4 separate regions of the Homo sapiens genome follow, and all the other regions are linked to region 1. The links are contacts of gene promoters, found by promoter capture Hi-C in blood cells and fetal thymus (Javierre and others, 2016). All regions are on one chromosome and are shown on one strand. The core of a region is centred on a gene start or on the middle of the fragment in contact, and the rest is flanking DNA. Distances in the headings are between cores, read along the strand shown.

Region 1 (5,922 bases), core at 1,586-4,085:
TTTAAGTGTTCTTAATGATTTACATTTTCTCCTTCTAAAACTCCCAGATTTTTAACACTCACTAGGAGAGTTTAATATTATGTCACTTTAAAAAATAAAATTAAAAAATGAGCCAAGATCACCAAAAACTTGAAAAGTAGGTATAAAACTTCATATATTAGAGTATTGTTTTACCATTTGACTTGTGAAATGTGAATTTCCAATGTCTCCCAGGAAGAATAAGTACCATGAAATGCTCTTGTCTTCCACATTGTAATAGAAACAATAATAAGGGATCTTTGTTTTGGCATCTGTTTCAGATTTTCAGAAAATGACCTCATATCCTAATACATATTTAGACTCTTAGGCTGAGAGAAGGTTGGGGGTGACAGTTTATAGAATGGGCTAGAAATTCCTTCAGGACAGGGACAGTATATTGACCACTGGACTTCTAGTACCTGACATAATTTAGATGCTCTGTAAATATTTGTTGAATGAATAAACAAACAAATGGATAAATAAAGTGGGTTTAGTAAATGGCAAAGTGGTATAGAACTGCCAAGACAGGCACAGTGCCTGGGGTGCTGAGCATTGCAGAGACTCCAAAATAACCCTACTGTGTACCTTCTGACGTGCGTGTGTGCGTGTATGTCTGCGTGTGTGCATGGGCGTGTGTGTGTGCACACGAGCTTGTGCGTGTGGTGTGTGTGTATGTATATTTGACGGGGGAAGAGAGAGTTTCTCTCTGACTCTCCCTTCCTCATCTTGTGACGTGTACTCCCCCTGCTAATATTAGCAAGAATGCAGTGGATGGAAGTGGTGCAGAGCGATTAACTGCTCTTGTAGGTGGGGAAATCTGGGGACTGTCCTGCTGAAGCAAATATTTTAAAAGCTGAGTTAGGGGCTTCTGTCCCCACAGGGGCACCAGGGGAGAGTCTCTCATCAGCAAGAAGGTTGTTGGAGTAGAGGGAGGAATGGTTGGGAAAGGTGGCCAAGCCCTCAACGAGGTCCCTCAACTCTGCAGATCTGGAACATCAAATAGGAAGGAGTTAGGGACTTTGAGCATTCTATTCACTAAAGTGTTCTTGTTACAGAGAAGGAAATGATGGAAGCCAACTTATCTCACCCCCAACTTTAGGATCCATACTGGAAAGACAATTTAATAATTGTAGCGAGAAGTACGTATCTCGGGAGGAAAACCTCCAAGGACAATGAAGTAGAAGCACTTTGAAAGCTCTAGTCACTATATACTGTAGATACAAATTACCACGGTCACTGAAGATGAATACGGCATCTACATTCTCCTTCTGGCATATTGCTGAACCCCACTGTCTAGCCAGAGACTGAAACACACTGGTCACATGTTTGCTGATGCCACTTCCAAATTTAGAAACAATCAAAAACTCACTCAACATTTTAGATGATTGAGAGATTCAAGAGGTCTGAATCTCCCTTTTACCACAGACAGCCTGATCCTCTTTGGGTTAAGTAGGTAAGCTTTATGGTGAGTGACACCCTCCACTCTGTTCCCTATCCCTATCCCCTACTGCTGCAATTCTCTAACCACACACTGTAGAGATGGTTTTCTTTCCAAACATTATCTTTCTATATTTGCCTCTGCTTAGAGCAGTGGATCTCTGGGGAAATCCCTCTGGGCCCTTGTTCTATTAATTTTCCATCTAGAGAGAGCCAATGACTATATCCACCATTTATTGAGCTCTTACTATGTACCAGGCACTATGCATGCATTTTTAAAGTTATTTTTTAAAGTTCTGAGATAAATTTAGATGAACAGAAGACATGCAAAGTATTGCACCGTATTCTTACATACTCCACCCAGCTTCCCTTTATATGCATGCATTTTAAACTTTGATCCTCACAAAATCTGATAAGGGAGATATTTATTATTATTATTCCCATTTTACAGACTAATACTGTTACTAGTACAGCACTGCCTCTGGATGTGTTACAGCCAGATTCCAGGGCGGTCTTTTATAAAGCATTTCCCTCTTAGTTTTAGCTGTTTGTTGTTGTACAAGACCTTCTTCAATGGTATAGATACCCCTGCCAGGACAGGAAGTCTTCTTCCTTTCCCTTCTGCTACATAAGAGGTAGCAAGAAATCTCTGAAAGGATCCCTTGAATTGGGACTGATAAAATGCAAGGTTTTCTCCCATCAGAAGGTCAGGGTTGTTCTTATATCAGAGATTTGCATCTGGGGCTCCTTTTAGGATCACAGGGAAGGGGGTTCCTATTAGGAGAATAAAAGGAGAGTCTGACTCGTGCCAAGGGTAAAATCAGGCAAAGGATCTGTGCATCTCACAATATCTGTCAAATGTAGCTGACTCTGCCTTACTATAGAACTAAATAATTTTCAGTGACATAATCCACAGCAGTACATATCAATTTATCATTTATCAGTTGCCAACAGTATATCACTCTGAGTTATGTGCATTGCATTCATTATCTTATCTGACACAAGAATCCTAATGGTTAACTTGTTATTATTTCCATTTTACAGATGAAGAAACTGAGACTTAGACATAAAAATACATGCCAGTGTCGTGCAGCTGGAATAGGGCACTCATGTTCTCTCTATCACAACATTATGCTATTTTTAAAAAAGTATGGATAATTACTATGAACTTACCTTTATTTGTTGAATGAGTGTTTCATCTTCTGGCACATTGGGGTCGATTGCAACGACAATGCCTTCATAGCCATTGTTGTTCAGCTGAATGAGTGAATTACTCAGGGCCCCTTCTAGAAGGTGAAGAATCAAGATGAACACAGAACTCTTAAATGGCCCCATTGCTGTACATCTCCCTGTGATTTCTCTCTTTGGAAAATGCGGGTTACGAAGGTGTCTTTCTTTACCATTATATATATACAGATATGAAAATATAGACACACGTTTCCAACTTATCGGAAGTGGTTTATCACAGGTCTTTAACCCCCTGACCTGATGTGTTTTACTATTGCTCTTGTCTTCAATAGGAGAATGATAACAATATCTTAGTCTCAAATTGCGTACTTGTAAATATTTCCATCTGCCTTCAGCTGTGCCAGATGCTGGGGTAAGGGTGGGGGAGCCCACATCCGGTTCCTTGGAAGCACTCACAGGTGACAAGCAGCTTGGCCGCTGATAGGTTTGTTTACTTCTTGGAAATGTTTACCAAGCCATGGACACCAACCCACCCAAAGCCCCCAACCCCCTCCTGCCCAGGAAAATCCAGACTGTTCTGCTTATTCAGTAAACATTTTGTAAGCCATATATTCAGTTATCCCTCATGGTGGTCTTTACCACAATGGTGGTTTTGTTTACCTTGACATAACCTCAACACCTCTTCATGCTCCCCTTAAACAAGAAAATATTCAATTATATTCCACATCCATTTGTACCAAAAGCATTAGCAAGTGATGTAGATATTATTGACTATTTTATAATGGAGAGTAAAGATAAAATGTATATCTTACTTTGCAAAGCATACTCCAAGTTCCTCATCAGATTTCTGCTTTCTCTATTGCATAGCTCCTACCAGTCAATAAAATTCCAATTAACATCATTAAATTATTTTGCTGAAACTAAATGTCCCTAGGAACATGAATTATGGGCTGTCAGTGGCTGTGTATATTCTTTCAATTTGCCAAACCTCAGGTGGAACCTCAAATTGGCCCCCCATTTTCTTGTATTGAAATACTTGAAATATCTCTTCGTTCATAAATTCATTTGGTCTTCAGATGGTGATAAGCATTAATTTCATCTTGTCCATATGAACTTTAAAGTAGTTTTTTCCAATTCTGTGAAGAAAGGCATTGGTAGCTTGATGGAGATGGCATTGAATCTGTAAATTACCTTGGGCAGTATGGCCATTTTCACGATATTGATTCTTCCTATCCATGAGCATGAAATGTTCTTCCATTTGTTTGTATCCTCTTTTATTTCCTTGAGCAGTGGTTTGTAGTTCTCCTTGAAGAGGTCCTTCACGTCCCTTGTAAGTTGGATTCCTAGGTATTTTATTCTCTTTGAAGCAATTGTGAATGGGAGTTCACTCATGATTTGGCTCTCTGTTTGTCTGTTGTTGGTGTATAAGAATGCTTGTGATTTTTGTACATTGATTTTGTATCCTGAGACTTTGCTGAAGTTGCTTATCAGCTTAAGGAGATTTTGGGCTGAGACAATGGGGTTTTCTAGATATACAATCATGTCATCTGCAAACAGGGACAATTTGACTTCCTCTTTTCCTAATTGAATACCCTTTATATCTAGCATAATCTTAAGCAGTTAAAAGGGAAACACTGAAATAGAGTGGAAATGCTCAATTATAATGTGGTTGTCCAGATGATCCAAAATATGCTTTTATATCAAAATACATATACATTTATTATTCATACAAAATTTAAAAATGTAGATTCCAAGATATCTCAGACCCCAAATGTATGTGTCTTTGCCTGGGTTCCCTAAAAAACAGAGCCTAAGGCAGGCATATGTGCTAAGAGTTTGAGAGTTTAATCCCAGAGCAGTGAGAATGAGGGAATGGGGAAATGAGTCAGGGAAGGCTGGGAAGCAACTAAAGGAGGAGCATTACTAAGCCCTGCAATGGAGACACCCAGCAGGCCAGCCCACAGGCGCCCTTGCCTTCCTGTGTGGGTTGTCTCCTAAGGGGCTGTGCAAAGAAACCACGCCTTGGAGCAGCCCTTTGGAGAGAGGAAGGAAAAGCGTTTGGCTCCTTCTCATCTTCTACAGGTGATCATCTCCCCCCAGACTTCCTGGCTGTGTCATCCAGCCCTTTCGGCAGTCGCTTAGAAAGAGAGACCCCCATGCCTTGTGGTATGTGAGGAGCCAGGGGTTACAAGAGGTGGCAGCTTGACCTCAGGCAGTGGAACTGCTTGGACCTGCAAGGAGTGGATAGTGACTGAGGTGGAGCAAATGACTGAGTGCCCGGTAGACAGATGGAACCAAGCAAATCTGAGGAGGTTCAATAAGAAGAGTCTGATACAGTTCACTCTGAGCTGCTCAGATTCACTCTAGTACTTTCATCATATCAAGCTCCAATATTATAATGTAGGATTTGTGTTTCTGTGTGTGTGAGCACTAGCTGTCTCACTTTTCCCCTGAGAGAAGGTACAAGTTTAATCATTTACAGAATCTCCTTCAAAGTGGTGGTCAATTGCAATCTGCTCAAGTGCATAAGGCAAGAAGGTTATTGAAATAAATTGCAATGCCTGCTGTTACAGCTGGTCTCAAGGCTTTTATAATCTCCCTCCTTTATCACCTATTTCCCTCACTTTTACTCAGCATTTTGGTTGATCTGTATTGTTTGTTCTCTTGTTGGGGTAATCCCACCCTTCATCCCTGAGTGGGGTCTTTAGTTGTCCTGCCCTTGTTGGCTGCAGCTGCTGCATTTCCCTATGACAGAGGTCATCTGGTGTGACAGACTCAGTTTAAGTGCTCTCCAAATTTGCTTGGCATTCCCTGCAAGCTGGGTCTTGGCTGCTTGCTCAGTGGAGAGTCCTGGCTGCTGCTAAAATTCACACATCTCCTAATACCAGTGTTTCTTCTTAGCTTTCCCCAGGAAGAGGGCCTAGTTTAGCATGGCCTTCACTGTGCAGATTGTGGGGGCAGCTCCTCCATTCTCTCCCGTTCCCAAGTCTGGATTGAATGGATGTGTGGAGGCTTTTGGCTCAGATAAATCACTGCACCATGGTACTGGGATCTGGCTTTGTCAGAGGCAGCCCAAATGGGCCAAATAACAGAAACCAGAGATGCAGGGAGTTAGCACCCTAAGGGACAACCTTTCACCAAAGAATATTTCCAGCATTCTAGAAGTTTCCTTTGCATTCCCTTCCAGTAAATCCCCCCAAAAGATAATTGCTATTCTGACTTCTATGCCACATAGGTTAATTTTGCCTGTTTTTGAACTTCATATAAACAGAAATATGC
Region 2 (5,922 bases), core at 1,978-4,477, 670 kb before region 1:
CTGTACAGTTGAGTCATCTGATCAGCATTCAGAACCATTGCTGTTGGCACGACAACAATGTAACACCTAGAAATTTATTCTTTATCAGGGGTATCCAGTCTCCTAGCCTGAGATTTATAAGATTCATTGAAAGAGATAATATATTTTTTAAATGAAAGAGCAAAACAACATAATTACATATCTACAGAATAAACTGACCTCTGCCAACCCAGGTGGAGATGAAGAGTACAGGGTTTGATTCCTCTAATTACACACAGCTTTTGGATAGGGGTGGATGAAAGGACACTTTATTATTCTCCCTCTAGTCATAGCGCTCTGTTGAAGCTAATCAAACTCTAATTCATTAGAAACTGGGACAAGAAACAGAAAATATAAATAAATAATTGCTTCCACTGGCCCTTAAAGCCCGAGCGAAACTTCTGATTAAATCTGGCACCTGGGCCCTGCTAGAATGTGCACTCCATGAGAGCGGAAGGCTTGCCTGGCTTGTTCAGCACCTAGACGAATGCCCAGCACCTTGTGCTCCCCTCATAAGTACTTGCTGAGTGAAGCAATGAATAAATAAATGAATGAACAAACAAACAAGGCAGACTCATCCAGAGCAGCAGAGGAGTCATGGTAGATTGAATGTGCCATCAAAATCAAATGCCTTGGGCTGATCCCAAGTCTTCTGACCAGAGGAGTTTGAGTGAATTACCTCACTTATTTCAGCTATTTCCCCCCAATAAGATGGAAGTAACAATAATATGTTTTGCAGATTAAGTGATAAAATTTATGTAAAAGTGATAAAATTATGTAAAAGTATTTCATAAAGTACCAGTTACCCATATGAGAACCCTGTAAGTGACCCTGTATCCCACGGCCTCACTCACCCCTGCTACGTCCTGTTTGCCTCTTAATCCTACAGCTTCTACCTCCTAATATCTCCCTCCATTGCTTCCTCTCCATTCTCACCACCAGTATCTTCACTGTGGTTCTCAGCACTCATTACCAGATAGCTCCAGCCCCTTCCTGGTGAGTTCCCTGCCTTAAGCCTAGCTCTGCTACAGTTGCCTTGCTGCCAATGGGCTTCATGAAGGGTGAGTGATTCCTGTAGTCACAAAGCACAGGGATCCATGCTCAGAAGGGCCCATGCTTGAGGGCACATGCTCTCTGGTTGCCATCTTGAAATTCTTAATGATTTACCATTTTGGAAGTGAAGTCCATGGCACATGAACATGGGCCGGGGGCTTAGGGTCTTGGCTCTCATGTGCAGCATCTCTTACCACCTCCCTGCCTCCCAGGACAGGTACTCGGCTACCCATTTCACTGCCCCTGGCACCTTGGGCCCTGCCCAACCTCCCCCACAACCTGTCCCAGTGACACTGTCCACTCCACTTCAGTGGAGGGTTGGGCGCAGGGTGGAGAGGGGCAGGGTTGGTGAGCGTGCTTCACAGTATCTTGCAAGGGGTGTGGCAGTGGCCATCCTCACCCCAGGCTGTCAGCGCTACCATGCACTTAGCAGGCAACTTGGTACAGGAAGCCTCAGGCTCAACCTTAACCAAGATGCCCAGTACATCTTGACAGGGAAGTTGCAATACCCTTGAGGGTTACCTGCTTGCCAAGGGTGACAGCACCAGGCCTCCGGGAAGGAGAGACACCTGGCTGCATCTTCCTACCCCTAGCTGAAGCATGACACATCAGTCCCATGGCTATGGAGAGGAGGAGCCAGCTGCCAGTGGACCACATGTGTCCCAAGTGTTAGGGAGGGCTCCAGCTCCCGTGAAAGTCTGTACTTGTCCCACAAGTGTCCTGCCATGAGGACCAGAGGGATGTGACATTAAAGAGGATACAAAAATGCCACGACAGATTGAGAGGCTGCAGAATGAAGGGAAACGCTCTGTATTCTAATGCCTTTAACAGCACCTTTTTTCCTGGTTTTTGAATAAATGGCCCCACATTTTCATTTTGCACAGGGACCCCAGGATCCAGTCCTAGCTGTAAACATGACCCTTCTAAATTCTGACCCTGACACACTGCTTACCTGTGACACTCCTTCAGTGCTTTCCCCTTTCCTCTAACTCAGAGCAGAAAGTTCGAGCCTCCTGGCTAGGCCCCCATGTCTGGCACTTGCTGATTTCCTCAGCCCCATCCCCTTCTGCTCACCCACACTCACCCTCCGCCTTGGCCATCTTGAAGCATTAGCAGCTTTTTGAACATGTCTTGCTGCTTTACGTCACTGCTCGTCACGTATTCTTCCCTCTGTTACCATTGTCTACCCCTACCTTTATCTGACTGTGTCTACTCAAGCCTCACTTCCTTCCATGGCCTTCCCTGACTACCTCAGCCCCCACCAGGCTCCCTCCCAGGAGAACTGTGTCATGGCCCCGATCACTGTGTCCTAGAATCACAGATGTTCCTACCTGGCTTCACGGTCATATGTATGCAACATGATCCTGATGACAGGGACCATATGACCTATTCCTAGCTCCAGCAGAGGGTCTGACACTTTCAGGGAGCACTGAATTCAACTCTAAGCTGGACATGCTAGTTCTCTGCAATTCCCTTCATTGCCTGCTTAGTGAGATGATCTGAATCAAACAAATCAGTCCCACTGGCCACTTTCTCCTGAGAGAGGAGGCTTTTCAATCACCAAGATGGCCAAGGCACCATTTTAAACCTACTTTATGGGCCTACCACTTTCTGATCATGTCACCTGCAATGATCCCATGGGTTTCCATTCTTGCTTATCACCAAACCTCAGCCACAGAAATTAGAGATCAAAAGCACTGGACTCATTTTTCTTATGAGAAAAAATCATTTTTCCCCTTCAACACATTCATAAAGCTTTAACAATGCAATCCTAGTACATGGACCTTGCCTCCCCCACTTTCCTATGGTGATCAATGCCCCATACAATGGGTTTCATGACCTTAGACCCGGAATCTAAAGATAGGCTATTCAATCATCTGGTCCAGATCCCTCATCTTACCACTGCAGACACTGAATGCAGGGGCCAGGGGTTGTCTCCATCCCAACCCAAGCCCATGCTCATCCCGCTGTTCCATGCAGTCTCTGTGAACTGGGAGTTATCGCCAGGCTCCTGATTCACCCTTCACTTCTCTGAGAGGATCCAAGGTCATCCTTCTTGTAGGTTTCCTTTCTTCAAGATCTCTAGACTATAATATTATCCCATCAATTGTCCAGTAACTCAAAACCTACCAGCCATACTAAACTAACCCATGATTATGGCATTCTCTGTTGCCACTTTTCACTGGTGCTTTATTTTCCTCCTGAATGTTCATCAGGGAGTTTGTTAAAAATTGGGAAGGGGCAGGAATGAGGTTATTGAGCTGTCAGTGATCAGACAATACAATTTACCTCACAGCAACAGTTTACTTCACTAAATTGTGGGGGAGCCAATGAGAAAGGAATGATCCTGGTTGATGCGCAGTATTGACACAGTAGCCACACAAACCACATTCAGTATCTCTGTAAGCCAGCTGCTGGCTTGTTTTGGGAGCAGTGTAATTGCTGCTGCCATCATTTCATGAACGGTCCCCTCTTCATCCCACCACCATTCATGGATTAGTTAGTAAACTAGCAGGACTGTTTCAGACAGAGAGCAATCTGCAAATCAGAAGCTTTCCAACTAGACTGGAATGGGTGGCTTTATTAGACACATTCCCAGTCACCTTGCTAACAGCCCTCAGGTTTCAGAAATGTCATTAAATATTCCATTCAAGAAACACAGGAAACCCTAAATGCGATCTACCTCATCCCCATCCCCACCGCCTCCCCCACACCATCTCCACCCTTCAGGCACATTCTAAACTTACAGAAATGTGGCCAGGAGAGAGTTAGACTATTTTGTGTGATGCAATACAGCCTGTTCAACTTTTGCATAGCAATTCAGCAAACACAGTTTTAAGCATTCAATTCTACTTCTACAGCTTCTTAAAATTCCCTGCAATATAATTATACTGATGGGAATGCAGAAAGATAATTGCTTTTAGAGGAAAGTTTCTCCTTTGTTCCATGTTCATCTGGCTTCCAGAAATGGAACAAGAGCCCTTGAACAGCAGAAATACGCATCCATGTGTCTCTAGTTATCATTTATTTACAAAGATAGACCTTGACAAATGTAATTTGTTCAATAAAATTAAAAGGATGCACGATAATTCACTTAGACAAAGAGACTTGAAAGGGGACGTCATCGGCAGCAGCGCCGTCCATCATTCCAAATGATCAGCTGACTTTGAAGAAGTGGCAGGTGTTCCCCTTTTGGAATGCAGCATTGAAATAGTATTTAGAAGGGGGAAAGAAAGAAAGAGAGCTAGGAATTGGAGCAATTTTTTATTCAGGCAATAATTATACAAATTAGATCTATGAAAGCCAGAGAATGACTGTGCCTTGAACCCTGTCTGTGTGCATAGAACAATGGGGAAATTAATAATTAAATCTATTACATATGCTCATAATTCAATACAAAAGATACCTCAGTAGTTCAAACACTCCTGTATTTTCATTTGAATAAGGCTTTCACACATGCTCATTATATATGTATTATATTTTAAATTTAAAAGCTTATTTTGTTGCCTTTATGTTTGAATTAATAAGGGCGCACTTTAATGCACTAATGGGGAATTGCATTAGCTGGCTTTGCAGACATAACTTTGAAAATCTCCCTGGTTTCCCAAGGGTGAAATCAATTTGCCCCATAACGTGTTGTCTCACAGACACATCTGGAATCTTGGAAGAATAGCTCCCCTCTACAAGCTTCTGATTTGGGCCTCCATATTTAAAAGAGGATCCCCTAGTAGATACCCTTGCTAAATTGAACAGACACATCGAGATCATCTTCTGGATTTTGCAATCTTTTAGCCAGCTGACATGCTTTTTATGCCTGGCCCATGTTATTTTCCCAGAGAGCAAAAATAATTTTTCTGCAAAAAAGTAAAAGTTTATTTTTAATCCAATAATTCATTTCCTCCCTTTTTAAAATTTTTCTTTCTCACTCCCTCTGTCCCTCTGGCTTTCTTTATATTCCTATTTTTAACTCTTCATACTACCTCTGGCTCCATGGAGAGTGAAGAAGACAAGGAAATTAGAAAAAAGAGAGAGAAAGAAAAAGTATATACTATGGTGGGCAATGATGGAAAAGGCCACAATTGTTGAGGAACCAATTAATAGCATCAGAAGTACTGGAGTTCAGGACAGGGGGATTGGTGGTTGAACTACAGCACTGAAATCCCAGAGAGCACAGTGAATTCACAAAGTGAGAGTCTCAGTTTTCTAAAAAAAAAACAGGGTGACTCCACTGGAGGGTCAAATGCTAAAGTAATAATCAATGGAAAATACCCATCCCTCTGCAACCCAGAAAAGAGACAAAGAAGTCAGTATCTGTGAGAAAGAAAGAGAGGAAGCCTAACCAACTGCTCACATCTCAGTGCAAAGCGGCTGCCAGCATACCCGGACAGCCCGGCACATGCGGAGGCACTTGCCGCTGCTGCCACTGCGCTATGACAAGGAGTTTTGTGCCTTCGGAGGAGCGCCAAATCCAATGACGCTAATTGCATTGCAGATTTCTAGCATCATTAGCAATTCTTAAAATTACATTTGCCCTGCTTAAGTTCTCTATTTCCAGCCTGGTATACGACGGGGGCAAGTCTCTAAAGGGGATATGGGTTACAGAGAAATTTGATTGGACATGCTGGCTTCAGGTGTGCAGGTGGAGGCTGGCCGGGGGGATTCACAGCCCAGGAAAAAATGCTTGTTTGTCTTATTTTAAATGCTGATTGCCGGGAGAATAAACAAAACCCGCAGCTAAATGGGCCTTAAAGGAACACTGGGAATTTTGGAAAGAAAAAAGCCTTACCGAATAACAGTTGGAACTAGCCCTGTGGGTCCTATGGTGACAAGCACCATCCAACCACCCCGAGC
Region 3 (5,922 bases), core at 1,641-4,140, 650 kb before region 1:
CCTGGAGTTTGCCACCTAAGGGGAAGAAGTGCAGGTGGACAATACCAAGAACAAAATGTTAGGGAACGCTGACGCCTTCAGCTCACCCACAATGTTCTTCTCCCAAGGATTTTAGAGCTATGACCTCATTCAATTCTTACAACACATAAGGTGAAGTTGGCTTTGGTTTTACTTTTGGTAGAACAAGGAAACTTAGAGATTAGTGATTTTCCAAAAGGCACATGACAGGTGAGCGAGCCAGGACTTAAATTCACGTCTGTCTTATTCAAAAAGCATGTGCTTCCCATGTCACTATTATTGAACATAGGAACAAGCAATGGGCTTTGTGAGTGTAGTGACAAACAGTAAATTCTGACTTTCAGGATCAAAGAAACTGTCCCAGAGAGATGCTGTTTGAGCTAGGTCTTGAACGGTGAGAAAGATTTCCATAGAGAACTGGGAGAAGAACAGGGAGAAAGGTATGAAAGCAGGCATAAGTGACCTGGTTGGTCCAGGCTACCAGAGAGCTGTGGTGATAAACAAGGCTGAAAGGGAAGTTAGGGACCTAGCATAGAAGGTCTTGAATGCTACCTTAAAGGAGCCGCACCTCTTCCCACAGTGGGTGGGAAGCCACTGAGACTTTCTGAGGGAAGAAGCAACATGAACTTTCTCTCTGGAAGACAGAAACTTTCTTTCTGGCATCAGTGTGAAGAATGAGTTTGAATCAGGAGATCAGATCTTAATACTTAAAGTTAGATAGCATTTTCTCCTCCAACAGAAAGAAAGCAACCTGGTGGACATTGAGGGAATGCCAGGTGAGAAAAGGTGCAGTCAGAACGGGAAGCTATGTTGCTTGGCATCAAGATGAATTCTCTTTCCCTTACATTAAACAAGGTGGCTGGACCCTTGAAAGGAGGGCACGTCCTGGCCAAGCCCACCCCTGGTGCTTCTTCCCTTCCTCTGCACCCAGCAGTGCCAGGCATAGAGGAGTGGGCCATGATCTGTATTTCTCTTTGCACTCTGAGATCTTCACAGGTGCTAAGGATAGGGGTGTGTAGCCAAACCTAATGCTTGCCTTTTAAGCTGACTCCATCCTTCAAGGTTCCTTGTTGTCTGTCCTAAACCACGCAATGACAAGCTGAGCTCAGTGAGCATCTGTTGGGCCCATAACCTCTGGGGGTATGAGAGCCAAACATCTTCGTATTGAACCTTATCTCTTCTTCTAAGATACCAGTTTATTAGACTCATCCAGATGTAGTTTCAAGGTCTTTGAGCTGCAAAACCAACGAAAGATAAGATGGTGAAACTGGTGGGGCCTCAGGCAATAAGAAAGCCTATCTCCTTTGTCCACCCCACTCACCCACCAAAGCTTATGAATCTTTAAAGATCCATCCTTCAAAGCAACTATGTAAGGCCATGAAGGAGTAGACTTGGAATAAGGAATGTATTTTCCTTCAGTTTCTATTTTTTGGAGAGTAGTGTAATTCTTGCATTTGTTAAAGACCTTGGGGCTCCTGGAAGAAAGGAGATTTAAGTATAAAAGCCATTATAATAGCATTACTATTAGCAGTAGTGAGTTTGGCATGACGCCTAGGCCACCCGGACTCCAGAGTCCTAAGTTACTAAATGGGAGGCTCAGTGTGACTCAGATGGATCTGATCTGTTAGCCAGGGAGGTGCTAGGAAATCTCCCTAAACACAAAAGGAATGTTGTGGTGAGGGACTGAGCAGGAGGAGGGAGACAGGAAGAGGCAAGAACAGAGGGTAAAACCAAATTCAGGGATATCTGGAGAGCTCAGAGCAGGTGCCACTTATGAAGTGAGATTTCTGGAGTCAAGAGGCTGTCCTACCCACCTGCCACCCCTCCTGCCTAAGCATGCCTGGACTCCCATGAGGCAGAGGTTTTACTCCTTTGGCTTCAGGCCTCGTATCCACTGTAAAACTTCTGCTCTGCCCTCCCACCCTGAAAAGGTTAGACTGGCTGGTCATGGATATCTCTGAACCCCTCTTTGCAGAAAGGCCCTCAGGCATGTGGAGGGAGAGAGCTGTAAGCAGCATGCCACAGTGGGAAGTGAGGGGATGGCTGGGAGGGCTGCAGGGACACCAGGAGACAACCAGTCTTTGCTGGGTGCCCATGTTGGATCTGGGCCAAGCCTGCTCCATACAGCACTTAGGAGGAAGCATCAACTTCTCAGCACCTTTCACCTCCCCAGAACAGCTTGGTCAACCTCCTGCCATGGTGGCTCTTGTGCAAAGGCAAGGTTTGCACATGGAGACCCTGCTAAAACCAGAGAGCCCTGGGAGAATTCACAAGACACGCTGGCTGAACCGCTGGGAACTGATGACTTGAACTTGGCCTGTACTCACTCCCCAGCACATTGAAAAGTGGACTCAAGGTGATTTTCCCAACATTGAATCTGGGAATCCTGTCAGTCTTTAGACATCACCACGACCACCGAGAATAACTAACTGCCATTTATTGACCTGGGACTGAATTTAGGGACTAGGAGGAAGCATTTCAAGAAAACAAAATGGCCTAAATTTGCCCCTCCAAACTCCCAGTCCTCGTCGTTGGAGGCCGCACTGAGTTGCAGCCATAGCTATAGCCCACATGGGTGACTGCCATAGCCCTAGGTCATGCTTTTCCTGTTGCCAAGCCCTGTGGGGCTGTGTAAAAGAGGCAGAAAAGACATGGCAAGACTTTTTTTTTAGACGGAGTCTCACTCTGTCACCCATGTTGGAGTGCAGTGGCGTGATCTCGGCTCACAACAGCCTCCATCTCCTGGGTTCAAGCAATTATCCTGCCTCAGCCTCCTGAGTAGCTGGGATTACAGGCGCACACCACCACACCTGGCTAATTTTTGTATTTTTAGTAGAGACAGGGTTTCACCATGTTGGCCAGGCTGGTCTCGAACTCCTGACCTCAGGTTTCACCATGTTGGCCAGACTGGTCTCGAACTCCTGATCTCAGGTGATCCCCCCACCTGGGCCTCCCAAAGTGCTGGGATTACGGGTGTGAGCCACTGCATCCAGCCTATGGCAAGACTTTCAAAACAACCCCCCACTACTGCCTGTCACAGCTGTCAGAGCCTATGCAACAGGATGGTTAAGAGCAGAAAATTTGTAGCTAGACTTGGATTTGAATCCTGCTCCACCACTTTCTAGCTGTGTGACTGTAAGAAAGCATCTGAACTTCTAATTCATTCTCATCTGTAAAATGGGGCTGCTAGTAGTACCTTCCTCAGAGGATTAAGAGGATGAAATGAGGCCAGCCATGGGGGCTCAAGCGTGTAATCTTAGCACTTTGGGAGGCTGAGTCTTGAGCCCATGAGTTCGAGGCTGCAGTGAGCCATGGTTGTGCCACTGCACTCCAGCATGGGTGACAGAGTGAGATCCTCTTTCTCTTAAAAAAAAAGGGGGGATGAAATGAGTGTTAACAAATGCATAGCACTTGGTACAGTGCCGGCACATAAGAAGTACACTATACATGGGCAACAATCTTCCTCTTTCAAAAAGAATGTGTTGAGGAAATGCATTGCACCCGAAGGCTCAGTCCACTGCCCTGCTGATCTCTCAGTGTGTGTGGAAGGAAGCCTATAAGCATTGCTATGCACGAAGATCAGTTCTGATTTCCCTGGAAGTCCCTTGAGCTATCGACTAACCCTTGGTCTGGGCTCTTGCTTCTAGGAGAAAAAAAAATGCAGATATAATTTGTGAGAAACAAGTGGGCACTTCTGTTTAAGCTGCATGACTGGAAGAGTTCACACGTGACCACAGACTAAGAATCTCGGCTGGGAAGCACTGCCAATGATGACAGCAACAGGGATTTCCAAGTAGCCACAAGTATTCCCACACTACGTCAACCCATGGCTCCACAGATATTGCCAAGCCAGGGCAAGGAGCCCTCTTGCCATTAAATCCATCACAGTAAACTATTAAGTATGACCAAAGAACACTGGGACCAGAAAGTCCAGATGAAATGCACTTAGTTTGGGTAGCCATTTTGGATTCTCGGCTCTGTCCCTGAATTTCCTGAGCACACTAGTAGCCACGCTGAGGTTTAGCCCCCACATTCACCTCACACAGAAAACAGAAACTCATTAGAAGGGGTGGCATTGTTTGCCTTACTCCAGAAGAGCACATTGGGACTTTTTTCTTCTTATTGACCTGCTCTGTGGTCCCCCAAAACGATATTTCAGAGAGGAATTTACCAATAATGAAATATATAAGATACACTATAGTTTATAACGCAGTCCAATGTAGAAAACAGATGGTGTTGGAGCCAGACTGACCTGGGTTCACATCCTAGTTCACAACTTTTGTTATGAGAAGCCTTAGGTTACTTAACCAGCTAGGTTAAGCTCAACTAGAGCTTCAGTCGTCTCATCTGTAAACTGGTGCTCTAGACCAGTGGTTCTTAACTTTAGTCTTGGTCAGAACCACCTGAAAGCTTATTAATAAACATAGTGCTAGGTCCTACTCAGAAGGCTAGGGCCTAAGAATCTGCCTTTCAACAAGTTCCTAGGGGATGCTGACACTATTGGTCCAGAGATGGGATTATAGCCTAAGAACCACTGCAATTGTTTAATCTGTATTACAGCCCTTGCTGACTTTGAGAGACAGGCACATATCAGGAAGGGCATCAGGGTTTGATGGACTAGGAATCTTGAGGGCTGGGGAGCCCATCTTCCACCTCCTAGCTGTGTCAGTTTCAACTGTAAAACGAGGATAATGGTATCTACCCTTCCACGTGAGAATCTAATGAGAGGATAAATGTGAAATGAAAGCGCCTTGTAAATTATAAAGTTCTAAACAGTTGTAAAGGATTGAATATGAGGATTACTGAAAGGTTAAGCTCATGGTGCAGAGAGAGCCTGTAGTGCAGTGCCTGGCAAACAGTGGGGGCTCAATAAATACTAAATGTAGAAAAAAAAACCCACAAAAGTAAAATTTGCCACTGACTCCATGCCAGAGATTTCAGTCTTTGTCATATATTAAAATAAGAAAAGGTAATAAAGTTGTAACACATGAAGTTCACATTTCAATCGTGGGTGGCAAGGACCTCCTTCCTGGATTCTGATCCAATATTATTCAAATCTCCACTACTTAATGTGGAACTACTGTGGATCTTGATAAGAGGAAAAGGCTGGGCTCTGTTTCCACTTTGCTCTTGGCAGTCCTCAGGCCTCCAGTATAACTTTCTTAGAAAATGAATAGGGCTGGCTCCCAGAGAGACTAATCTAATCTCATCTTGTCCACTCAGAAGATCCGTATCAAACATTACAGACTGTCTGACTGCAGGACTACAGCAGGAAGGAGCATCTAATTCCATCTGGATTTGGATCAGTGATTAAACGATCAAGTAGAGAGCCATTAGCATGGTAGAAATAGAAAAGCAAAATATAACTGGCCTATTTCTTAAACATTGTTCTCATCTAAGGTGTTATTCAAAGAGCCCCCACATGAAACAAAGAGCAAGCCTGCGAGAGAGGAGTTTAAAGTCCACAGCCTCCTTTAAAAACAGACATGAATGGATCAACATGCTGCATTTTTACTGTTTATGGGCATGACAGTCTGATCAGATAACCATGCTATGCCAAGAGACCTAATTAGTAATCCTCTGGCGAATTTTAAATTACTTTTAAAGGAAAAAAAATATGTCTCTGGTAACTCTTGGTTGAATAAAATGTCACTCATTTCTGATCATCCATTTTCAGAAAGGCTCTGCCCGCTTCAAATGGAATTACTGGTGAATTCAGTTACGCAGAAAAGGTATATTTCAGCTAATCAATTTTGAGAGATCCAACAGTTTCAAACACCTAAGACTGAAACCTCTACATTGTTTTTTTTTACAGCACAACCTGGCTGCCTTATCAAGAGGGCACCCAGAATCATCAAAATGGGTACAAATGAAATGTTATTGCCACAGGCACTTTAAATACAT
Region 4 (5,922 bases), core at 1,980-4,479, 570 kb before region 1:
TTCTAATATAGTAAGAAGAACAACATTCAATCCCTCAGATTTTTTTAAAGCCTACAATGGGATTTTAAAATGCCACTAATTAGACTACACAAATTAGACACTACTTGCATTGAATACTGTCACTCCATACACCATCAAAAACTGTAAGAAACTTCCTTTTTCAGCTACCATCTCTTGAGCGACTCCTATGCTTTGGCACCTAGTCTAGAAACTTTACGTATGGTATCTTCCACCTACCTGTTTAATTAGTTACTATTGGTCAAACTTTAAAGATGAAGCAACTGAAGCTCTGTGAGGATAAAACCATAGCCAGTGCCACAGAGCCAGTAAGTGGTAAAATCAGGATGTCACCCAGTTCTGATATTCACTGAATAGATTACTGAACTGATATAAGGATAAATGGATGACACCTGTCCTGGATATTTAATGACAGATAATAAAAATCCAGAAATTCATTAAGCAAGTAATAATAATGAATAAGGTTGTTATACTTCAACCTCTTCTGCATTCAGAGATGGATGTGTTAGATGCTCATTCCTATTCTTTTGCAGTGGGGCTGGAATGCACCAGGACAGAACTCAATAGCTGAGGATCCCAATGAAACTGAGAGGAAGAAAAGATAAGCAGAGGCACATCAGGAAGCAAACTAACAGTCCAGAATAGCAAAGATACCTATGGTCCACACCGCGCCCTGACCGGTTCTTAGTGAACAACTGGTTATTGGTAATATTGCTGAGGTAGCATTGGCTGGTGGTTTAGATGGTCTCTTTCCAGAACTGCCAAGATACTTTAACTTTTAGCAAGCCCTGTATTTCTGTCATCCAACTGGCCAGAAATTCACCACAGGAAGAGGCTGTGGAAAGTCATGAACTGCCATTTTGAAAACTAGAACCCTTACAATTACCAAAGGAGAGGTGCTTTATTACTAACCCACGTATCATTATTACCTTCCATATCAGTACAGGGTTCAGCCAAAGTTGTCATTTGGCTCATGATTGTTTTTACTAATTTATTTTTTCCATATACATGGGAAATTTAAAAATACTTTTCAATTGTATACAATAGAAATATTAAAATTATAGATTACTTTTTTAAAAAAACGGCAATATACTCAAAGCTTCAAATGTGAAAAGGTATTTTTAAAAAGGTATGTAAAAAGTTTCTCTGTCAGAATCCATTTTTTTTTTAGTTTCTCTCTTGTTCTGTATCTATCTGCCCAATTCCCAACCTTCACAACACATAATCACTATTATTAGTTTTTGGTTCAGAGATCACTTCACGTATATGTAAGTTAAAACAAATACTTCATTTTTACACAAATATTAGGACAATATGTACTTTGCTTTGTCTTGCCTTTATGTAACTTAAATAGATCTTCAAGATCTTTCTACATCAAAACATAAATACCTTCCTTGTTCCTTTTTAAAGCAGTACAGTAATTCACAATATGAATGCAAATTCTAATTTTTGCAGGACTTTCCAGAATAACTTCTGTTACATACAACATGCTTAGCTTTAGTTTTATAATCCTTAATTTTATTGAATTTGAATTTCCATTTGACATTTAATTTTGAAAATGTTTTACAACAGTACCCTAAATGTACTTGTTGGAATAATATACAACAGTTTAATTATTTACATGTATATTCAGTTTCTAGGATGGCATCCCCAAACTCAAAATAAAATGTATTGACACAGTTAAATATGGCATGTACTTAAAATAATTATTTCAGTGGTAGTGATAGACTTTGCCCATCTGTGCATCCATCCATTTATTTCACTGCTTTCCTCAGTAGTTATAAGATTATGAGATAACTGCTGATTGTTAAGAACACAGCATATTGTCATAGAACAGACCAAATCCACCTTGATAAAACAGATGGTTGTGACCTAACTAAATAAAATTTGACAAGTTTTAAAAACTATAATATTAAGTAAGAGTCTACAGTCATTTATGACTAAAAAACTATTGGTTAAAGTACATTAATCATTAACAATATAAAGATTTTCACTGTCATATGCCATGCAATTTTATTTCTAGGCACCTACTAGAAAAACATTTGCTTGAATGTATAAGAAAATATGAAGAAAAATGTTCACAGATGAACTGCTCATAACTGCAGACAATCTAAAATCTGTTAGAGATATATTATAGATATATGCTACATAGCAGTTAAAAGAATGAACTACGTCTGGAAGTATCAAGATGGCTAGATATCAGAATTATTGAGTGAAAAAATGCAAGTTGTAGAATACATTCACTATGATAACCATCTCTTCAAATAAAAAATTTAAAAATGTATGGTTACACAAATGAGTAAAAATACCAAAAAAGTACTAGGAACATACATACCCAATTTATAATAGGTTACTTTATACAAGACAGAGGATCAGAATTGGAGATGGTGGTAAAAAAAAAAAAAATTCAACTTTATTTGAAATATTCTATTTTTAAAGACATATTATTGATGTAATTTTAGAAGGATAGCTAAATATGCAAAAATATTAATGTTTGATAATTCTGACATAACCTTTGGACTTTTCTGTAATCTTTTAATTTCTAAAAATTAAAATATATATATTAAAAGGCCATTTATTGTACAGATTTATTGGGCCATATAATTTTATAACTACAACCAAGTAGAATAAATGAAAACATTTTAACTTATGCTTTTCAACAGCAAGATACACTGAGTAATTATAATAGTTATCCAACTCATAAACTCACCAAACTTCAATGGCTGTTTCACATCACAGGGAAATATTTTTTCACTTTTTTAGCAAAACAGAACAAGATATGCAGAATTCACAGTATTATAGAATTACATATTAAACATTCACATACTACTTTCACCACCAGAAGAAAAGCATATTTCAATGACGATAAAGCAAAAGTTGGGAGCAGATTAAAAAAAAAAGTCAGCACCCATGAATGTGATAAATCAGCAAAACAAATGAATTGATTTATGATATTCACTTCGTTAGAACAGGAAAAAGAACCCTAGCACTTTATTACCTAAGGTTTAATTTAACAAATACTATTGGGAAATGTAGTGATATATGCAAGTGAATGTTCCAGATATTTGGAGCTTATCCTTTTAAGCATCAAAACCTTTCAGTTATCCATGTTGATGACAATCTCTCAGAAAGGACATACTTCCCTCAGTTTTAAAATACATGTATTGAACATAACCAAGGTTTTCCTTGAAAATGTGTGGGTCAGCATTCATTCATTCATTCAGCAAATGAGAACTGTCTTCAAAGAGTGTGCAATGTTGACATTGTCATCCTGATATCAGTTTGGTCAAGGTAATTTTACAATTAGTACACCAACTGAATTAAAAATAAAATTCTACAAAATTGGAAATATCTAAACACCTTTTCACTTCATTCCAGCATATCTTTTATTTTTTCCCTACACAAATATACTAGCCAAACTGTTACATTCCTATAACCTAGTCCATGTTTTCTCATCTTTGAGTCTTTGCTCAGTATTCATTTCACTTGGAATATCCTCCCTCCAATTGCTGTCAAAAAACCTATTCATCCTTCAAAGCCCATCTCAAATCTCAACTATAATATGAATAGTATTTCTTATCTTCCCAATTAAATTAACAGTGCTTTAAAGTCTTTTGGTCTCCCAGTGTGGCAATTCCTCAAGGATCTAGACCCAGAAATACCATTTGACCCAGCAATCCCATTACTGGGTATATACCCAACGGATTATAAATCATGTGCTATAAAGACACATGCACATGTATGTTTACTGCAGCACTGCTCACAATAGCAAAGACTTGGAACCAACCCAAATGCCCATCAATGATAGACTGGATAAAGAAACTGTGGCACATATACACCATGATGTGGCCATAAAACAGGATGAATTCATGTCTTTTGCAGGGACATGGATGAAGCTGGAAACCATTCTCAGCAAACTAACAAGAACAGAAAACCAATGTTTTCACTCATAAGTGGGAGTTGAACAATGAGAACACATGGACACAGGGAGGGGAACATCACACATCGGGGCCTGTCAGGGGGTGGAAGACTAGAAAAGGGATAGCATTAGGAGAAATACCTATTGTAGATGATGGGTTGATGGATGCAGCAAACCACCATGGCACGTGTATACTTAACGTAACAAACCTGCAGGTTTTGCACATGTATCCCAGAACTTAGAGTATAGTAATAATTAAAAAAAAAAAAAAGTCTTTCGTCTTCTCTGAACAACCTGTTTTAATTCTTAAACAACAATACTGGGAGGTAAAGATTTACACAACAAATACTAATTTATTTCAAACTAATGGGTCATACTTAGGATACTTTCTTATAAAATAAAAATAATACCAAACTTGCAAGGTTATTGTGGAATGTATTATGTACAGAAGATGTCTATATCAATGCTGGATACACAGTAGATGCATAAGAAATTGACAAATATTATGGTCTACACTATAAGTGAAAAATCAAGTCAAGAGGCTGCATACTAAAAATTATTATGATAACACATTCTCCCATGGGCATGTACAAACATCAGAAAATCTTCTAGGCCATGAACTCAACTATGTGATATCTCCAAGAGAAAAAAGTAACTTAGAACAGGACTCATTTATTCTCCCTGAGTACATGAAAAGTCTGAATCCTAAAGAAGAATAAGTTTTTCAAAGAAAGATATATTTAAAAGAATAATTAGAAGTACTACTTACAATACCGATAGGTTAAAAATTGTTCATAGGTTAATTAGTTCCTACTGCTGCTGTAACAAATGACGACAAAATGACTAGCTGATAGGAAAACAAATTTATTATCTTAAGAGTTCTAAAGGTCAGAAGTCCTAAAATCAAGGTGTCAGCTAGGTTATGTTCCTTCTGGAGGATCTAGAAGAAAATACATTCCCTAAAATCCTTTTCTAGCTCCTGGGAGCCACCTGCATTCATTCCTTGGCTCATGGACTGAGCCTCCATCCTCCAGCTGCACAGCATCTTAAAATCTCTCTCTCACTGACTAAGACTCCTGCTTCTGTCATTACATTTCTTTAGGACTCTGATTCTCTTGCCTCCCTCTTATAAGGATACTTGAAATTACATTGAGACTACCTACATAATCCAGGATAATCGCCCCATCTCAAGATCCTTAATTTAATCACACCTACAAAGTCCTTTTTGCCATATAAAGTGACATAATCACAGGTTCTGGGGATTAAGATATGGACATATTTAAGGAACCATTATTTAGCTGAAAACAATGGGCATATCTGGCTCTTTAATTTTATAAAGATTACTAATCCTATTACTCTTCAATTCAAAACTATTTTTTATTGTCTTTTAAAAGGGAAAGCTTCGTACATATACTTTACACTGTAACAGTTTCTCAACTGAGAGAATTTGAAAGGCTTTGAAACCTCAAGATTCTTTCAAAATGTGATTCTGATTTCCTAGAGCTCATTGTACTAGCTAGAGTACAATATTTGCATTTTCAAAAGTAGTTCGTTGAATGGTTCCATATTTACAAAACAAGGGTAATTTTAGTGAATTATGTAAAATCTCACAGTGAAAAGAATTACTATAGCTTGAACAATAAAGTTATCAATCCATTGTTAATTTATTTTCTCCCCTCCAGAATCTGGGAAAACCACTTATAATAGTTACTCTGGAGACCACAGATCACAAAAAATTGAAGTGTGGTGTTGGGGAGACTTCAACTGCTTTAGAATGATTCTCCAAGTGTATACTGTAAATTTGCTATTCTCTTGTAATATTATATTTGCAATGTAAAAGAATTTACATTTTTGTTTGTCATGAAATAATAATTTACTGTGACCTTCCTCACTGGTATTTCATCAAAGCCATTCTCACCATTGATTCTATTTTTGTTTTGACACTTTGAAACAAATAAAAGGGTAGATGGTCTACTTATTTTTTA

The links. Contacts are between HindIII fragments. The CHiCAGO score rates a contact against its expected background, and 5 or more counts as called.
Region 2: a fragment that was not itself captured here is called in contact with the fragment with the promoter of CLCA1 in region 1 in 1 of 17 cell types (neutrophils); the score reaches 5.1 in neutrophils.
Region 3: a fragment that was not itself captured here is called in contact with the fragment with the promoter of CLCA1 in region 1 in 1 of 17 cell types (neutrophils); the score reaches 5.9 in neutrophils.
Region 4: a contact is called between a fragment that was not itself captured here and the fragment with the promoter of CLCA1 in region 1, in 1 of 17 cell types (neutrophils). The highest score is 7.4, in neutrophils.

The regions. Positions count from the first base shown.
Region 1 is chr1:86,465,840-86,471,761 of GRCh38, reverse strand. It overlaps CLCA1 (chloride channel accessory 1), which reads right to left and starts at 2,835. Exons shown (of 14, transcript NM_001285.4): 1 at 2,629-2,835. The coding sequence starts at 2,790. The HindIII fragment of the contact is 8,280 bases long and covers 1,479-5,922 here.
Region 2 is chr1:87,135,070-87,140,991 of GRCh38, reverse strand. All of the region lies in intron 2 of LINC01140 (long intergenic non-protein coding RNA 1140), which reads right to left. Among named protein-coding and RNA genes, the nearest start is that of LINC01140, 8.3 kb to the right of the region's middle. The HindIII fragment of the contact is 797 bases long and covers 2,829-3,625 here.
Region 3 is chr1:87,111,421-87,117,342 of GRCh38, reverse strand. No RefSeq gene overlaps it. Among named protein-coding and RNA genes, the nearest start is that of LINC01140, 15 kb to the left of the region's middle. The HindIII fragment of the contact is 3,080 bases long and covers 1,351-4,430 here.
Region 4 is chr1:87,034,100-87,040,021 of GRCh38, reverse strand. The region is part of intron 1 of HS2ST1 (heparan sulfate 2-O-sulfotransferase 1); the gene reads right to left. Among named protein-coding and RNA genes, the nearest start is that of LINC01140, 93 kb to the left of the region's middle. The HindIII fragment of the contact is 4,220 bases long and covers 1,120-5,339 here.